2 separate regions of the Homo sapiens genome follow, and region 2 is linked to region 1. The links are contacts of gene promoters, found by promoter capture Hi-C in blood cells and fetal thymus (Javierre and others, 2016). All regions are on one chromosome and are shown on one strand. The core of a region is centred on a gene start or on the middle of the fragment in contact, and the rest is flanking DNA. Distances in the headings are between cores, read along the strand shown.

Region 1 (2,700 bases), core at 131-2,630:
GGAAAGCCCCAGTTCTCAAAACACCCTCGCTTAGCGCTGTTAGAAGATGCTGGAGAGTTCCTGCCCTGAAACTTGCATCCACTTGGTCCCTAAAGCAGAGGATACACTAAAGAACACCTTATATACTCTCCACTGCAGTTCTCCCTTGTGGAGAAGAAGGGGTTAGGAGCTCCGCATGAAATTAAAATAAAATAAAATAAAACGCCTACATATATGGGTCTTCTTAATCTTCTTTGAGCCAGTACATAGGTCTGGCAAGTAAAGGGAAAGTCACTTGAGGGGATGTCAGCTTGCCTGGAAATTTAACCCTTTCATCTCTGTATTAGGAGAACTTTAACCCCTCTGTTTACCTGGTCTTCAGTTCCACACACCAATGCGACCAAGGCAACAGGAAATAGGGATTTGACTCCTCAGTTTGAAGCTGTGGCATTTGGAGAGGACTCTGATGGTGTTGGTGGGAGAGATGGGGAGGTTGGTCTCCTAGTAGGTGATGTTAACTCTTGGGGGAAGTGGGCAGAGACCAGTTTGCAGCATCTCCCATGTCCAGAAACCCTATTTCCCCCCAATTCTCCATCAGATCACACAGCCGACTTTAACCCTTTCCATCTTTCCACCCCTTTACCCTCAGTCCCATTCTACTCACGCTGCTGTTGTGGCCAGACCAGTGGACCATGGCTTGGTTGTGTGCTGAGTCTCCCGTCAGCGCAAACGTGGTGCTGGTCAGTCTCAGCTCCTCCATCCGGAAGCGGGTGGCTTTGTCCGGGTCCCGCTCCCGAGTCCCAGGCTCCTGCTGCCCTCCATCTCTTAGCACTCCCCGGGGGCTCCGACTCGCGCCCTCTCCCCGTTCTGCCTTCTCCTGATCCGCTCCGCTCCGTCTCCTCCGGCCGGAGCGTGCAGCAACCGCCATGGATGCCCCAGTGCCCCGAGCCCGCTCCAGGGATAGCGCTCGGTCCCCGGGGGCCACTGAGAACAGGGGACGCACTACGAGGGGCAGGGGCGTGGCAGGAGCCCTGCCTGGCCGCCCCTGGTGGGAAAAGCCCCTAGGGGTCGAGGCCGAGCGTGGAGCGGAGCTGGGGTGCGGCGAGGGGCAGCAGGAGCCGCCGCCGCAGACGCCCGGGGCGCAGAGGATCAAGAGCCCCGCGCCGGCGAGGAGCGCGCTCAGCCGGGCTTGGGAGCCGCCGCCGGCGCCAACTTTTCCCATCGCGGGAGCGAAGAGCAGCGGAGAGAGGGGTCCCAGAACGAAGGTGGCGGCACGAGCTCTGCGCTGGCGGCTGTGGGGGGCCGGCGCTCAGGACCCCAACTCCATCCAAGTTGCGCCGCGGTGGGGGCGGGCGGAGGCGGCGCCGGGCAGGTGGCGGCCGCTTGCCCGGGCTGGGCTTGTGCCGAGCGCGGGTCCGGACGGAGCGAGCCGCCGCCGCGCGGGGGTGGAGCTGAGCTGAAGTCACTGGCGGAGCGGGCGCGGGCGCTGGCGGGCGACGCGGGAGGGAGGGCAGGCGCTGCCGGGACTCCGGGCGCCGCGTCCCGCGGCCGAGCTGCGCTGCGCACCGGGTCTCCGGGCGCTGGAGGCGCCGCCGGCGACCTCCCCTCGGCCTCGCAGGCGCTGCCGCCGCCTCTCCCCGCCGCCCACTCTGCGCCCCCGCGGCCGCGGGTCCCGGCGCTGAGTCCGCGCACCCTGCCCGCGGGGGCGGTCGACCCCGGGCTCCCGGAGCAGTCGATGTGTCGGGAGCTTCCTATTCCTGCTTTATTGTTTCTATGAGTCTATGTTGCTGTTTCCTTTTTTCTCCGTCTTTCTGGTCTTTTCTAGTTGAGGAGATAGGGATGGGTGGGCTTCTGCTCCTTCCCTCTCTTATGCTTCCTGAGTTGGCATCTTGACCTTACCCGCAGCAGAGCCTGTGTGTCCCAGCCTGGGGGGAGATCCCGGAAAGGCAGCAGCAGAGAGTGATGTAATTAAATGATCTCGTGTGTGAGTGTGTGTGTGTGTGTGTGTGTGTGTGTGTTAGTTTGGGGGATTTTTTTTCCCATCAATTTTAACGCTTAGATTTCTCTCCTAACCTCCTAAAGCATTCACTGAATTTGAACCCAATCTTCCTGCATGCAATCATATTTAAGAAAACGCTTTCCACTACGCGTTTTTTAAGCGTATATATCTTGGTTTCCCTAAGAGACTGCAAACTCATTGAGGACAGGAAGATCAAATTTCGAGCAACTTGGAGGAAGTGACCTGTTTTTTGTTTACCATTTTCCTCAGTACGTGGCACAGTACCCTACATGGGAGGAAATCTGCCAGTCATTAGTTCAATAAATATTTATTGTGAGTCTAATGCATATCTGCATAACAAATAAATACAGGAAAGGAGGCACAGTACTTATAGTTATTCTGTGTCACTTGGTGCCTGGCCCAGTGCTACTGCCACATGCTTTGAGATCCCTAATAGCAAGTCTGTGATGGTGCTCTGCCACTGGTTTGCTTTGGGACCTCAGACAAATCACAATCTGTCAGCTTCCTAAGCTTTAAAATTAAATGGTCACATTAGATGACCTTTAAAATCCCTTCCGCTCCTAAAATTCTATAATTGTATGATTATAGTATCTGCCCAGCCTAGCACCCTGCTACTATTCGTAAGTTCAGATGAAGATTTATAGCAGGTGAATGGGCTTTGAAAACGGCAAAGGATTTCTCAAAATCCAATCCTTTTTAAA
Region 2 (2,700 bases), core at 14-2,513, 670 kb after region 1:
ATGGACAATCAAGAAACTTTATAAACGTTAGCAGGGGAAATGGGCCCCTTCCTTCAGGCTGCAGACTCCATTTGCAGTACGGATGAGAGGAGACTTTGGAGTGAGAGACTGTCTGGCTGCTGACTTTTTACTAAACCTACCACCACCAATCACACTCCGTGGAGATCTCTCAGATACTGAGGATTTGAATTCTGACATTCGTGGTGATGAAGAGTCAGTGGATAGCAGACTTTCACTTACTGAGGCAAGAAAAAAATTAAAATTCCCAATATTCTCACTATCCACTACAGCATCTAGAAGTTTACATGACACACAGTAAATGCTCAGTAAATATCTGAGAAATAAACTGGGGAGAGGTCTGGTTTTAACAATCTGCTCTATCTGAATAGGCTGCATAGAGGTATCTGTCTTTAGCAGAATGAAAGCCAAAGAATCAATGAGAAAATTCTCTTATGTCTCTAAATTTCTTACAAGGGGACTATTCTATGAAATAAAGTAATTCTAGAAAGACCAAAAACTTAATAAGATAGAGGTAGAAGTAGGGACTATGAGTCAGAGTTTATTAGCTCGATTTAATAATGTCCACTTTTATAGAAGAACAAAGTAAGGAAACAGCTTTATGCCACAACTTACCTAGAAACATCAGCCATATTTTAAACAATACTTTATAGCTTCTAAAAATAGCTCAGATAGAGGGGTTTGGGTGGATAAAAATAACAACTATCATATATTGGATTGTCCTTATGTACTAGCACTATGATTTACATGGAAGGCCCATTTCACATTCCCATTTGGCTCAGTAGGTTGGTTTAGTAGAGTCGTAATTTTATAGGTAAGAATGATTAAAATTCAATAAGTTAAATTTACTTGCCTAAGGTCACAAGACTAGTGAAAGATAATTGATAATTCTAACTCAGGCCAGTTGACTCTAGAACCCATATAATTAACCACTACTCTGACTTTTCTTAACCTCAACAGTATCAGGTGCCAAACATACTTACAATCACTGAGGTTCTGACTGACAAAAAATTACCAAATGTGGTGGAGAAACTTGAATGGAGACTACTTAACATGCGTATGATCCAACTTCCTTAAACAACACACACTAAGATACTTAAGTACAGTGCAAGATATATACTGTCTCTGTACAGATCTTTGGGAATACCTTATAGGAAAGATATGAAATTACTTTGCTTGGCAAGTTTTAAGATAGGAAATAATGTCTGTCCCACAGAATTTTATAGCTGCCCTTGGGACTATTAGGTTCTATTTCTGTCATTTTTTAATTGAGTAACCTATAGTCCTGAATAAATTTGTCCAGTAACAAAACTAGTCAATAATAAGATTAGGATGAGAATTGAGTTCTGCAAACTCCTTATCTACACATCTTTTGATGATATCAGCTGTTTAATCTTCCTGAGAACTCTTTAGAAGCAGGAAGACAGATTTGTTGACCTCACTGACCTTGACTGGACTAAAACATCCCTTGGATATTTCTGTCCATTGATCCACAATAAATTCTTAATAGGAAGACAATGTCTTCTTGAAATGGGAATTAATAGGTTCCTTTTCTCTGTACCTTGGCATTGTTAACATGGAAAACAGGGGTACAAGCATTATTCAGTTTTATTACTTAGAATAAATCCTTTGGGATAGTTTTTGTTATTTTGACCTCTGACTTAGACTGATAAACTTCTGAGGCATTGGGAGGGATGCTTATACTCTAATAAAATCAAATCTCTATATCATAATCTGCAAGAAAAAATTCAAAATATAAAATTTTTTCTAATTTTGTTTTCCCCAAAATATCCCTGAAAAAATCAAGATTTTAGAGTTTTATGTAGTATTATGGAGTCTATTAATCAATCATTAGAAATTAGCAAAAAAAATTGCTAAATTGATTCTACTTTCAATTAGATCCAGCTTTCATCTCACCACCCCCTTGTTTAATACCACTGTGGCTACTTAGCTTTAAAATGGAACTTCAACCTATTGGTGTAAAATTTCCCTTGGAAAGAGGAAAATAGAATCTTAAGACAATGAGGATGAGAAACAGCAATTTCTAGGTTAAAACTTGGCAGGTTGTAGAAGATACTAATCTGAAAGTGACCATTTGATTAAAAAAATCAAGAACTTGTTCCTGAGGCTGGGGGCACAGAGAATGAAGAAAGAGTTCTTTAAATGTGATGAAGTTTCTTCTTCATAAATAAAAATGTAAGTGGAAGTCTCAACTATTTAAACAAACATTTTTACTACTAATCAGATATGTGCAAATTAATTAACAGCAAGATATAATTTTACAAGAGGCAAATTAGCAAACTATATTTCTCAGTGATGATACCCCATGCAAATTCACAACTTTTCTTGATCCTATCAGGAAGATGGAATTGCAAGGCAATAAGCTAGAAAAAATGTCTAAGGAGGGGAAAAAAAACTGCAAGGAAAGACAAGATGCAAACACTGGCTTAAGTAAGATAGACACAAGTGGACACTGGTAATAAGAGTTTGGTTGAAAATTTGGTAGAAGACAGGTATGTACTGGTGATAAAGCTTAATGTCCCTGAGGATGACAGAAATTCCAGATGTCAATACCCTCTTTGGGATTTTTTTATGTAGTTACCCCAGCAAGAGCTTACAAAAAAGACTGTAGTGAGTCCTAACAAAATGTTTCTTGAGGTACAGGTTTGGGGGAGGGAATAG

What was found. Contacts are between HindIII fragments. The CHiCAGO score rates a contact against its expected background, and 5 or more counts as called.
Region 2: a contact is called between a fragment that was not itself captured here and the fragment with the promoter of SORCS1 in region 1, in 1 of 17 cell types (M1 macrophages). The highest score is 5.1, in M1 macrophages.

The regions. Positions count from the first base shown.
Region 1 is chr10:107,163,326-107,166,025 of GRCh38, forward strand. It overlaps SORCS1 (sortilin related VPS10 domain containing receptor 1), which reads right to left and starts at 1,381. Exons shown (of 26, transcript NM_052918.5): 1 at 644-1,381. The coding sequence starts at 1,201. RefSeq lists a silencer at 1,097-1,290. The HindIII fragment of the contact is 2,762 bases long and covers 1-2,507 here.
Region 2 is chr10:107,830,990-107,833,689 of GRCh38, forward strand. No RefSeq gene overlaps it. Among named protein-coding and RNA genes, the nearest start is that of LINC01435, 240 kb to the right of the region's middle. The HindIII fragment of the contact is 2,570 bases long and covers 1-2,548 here.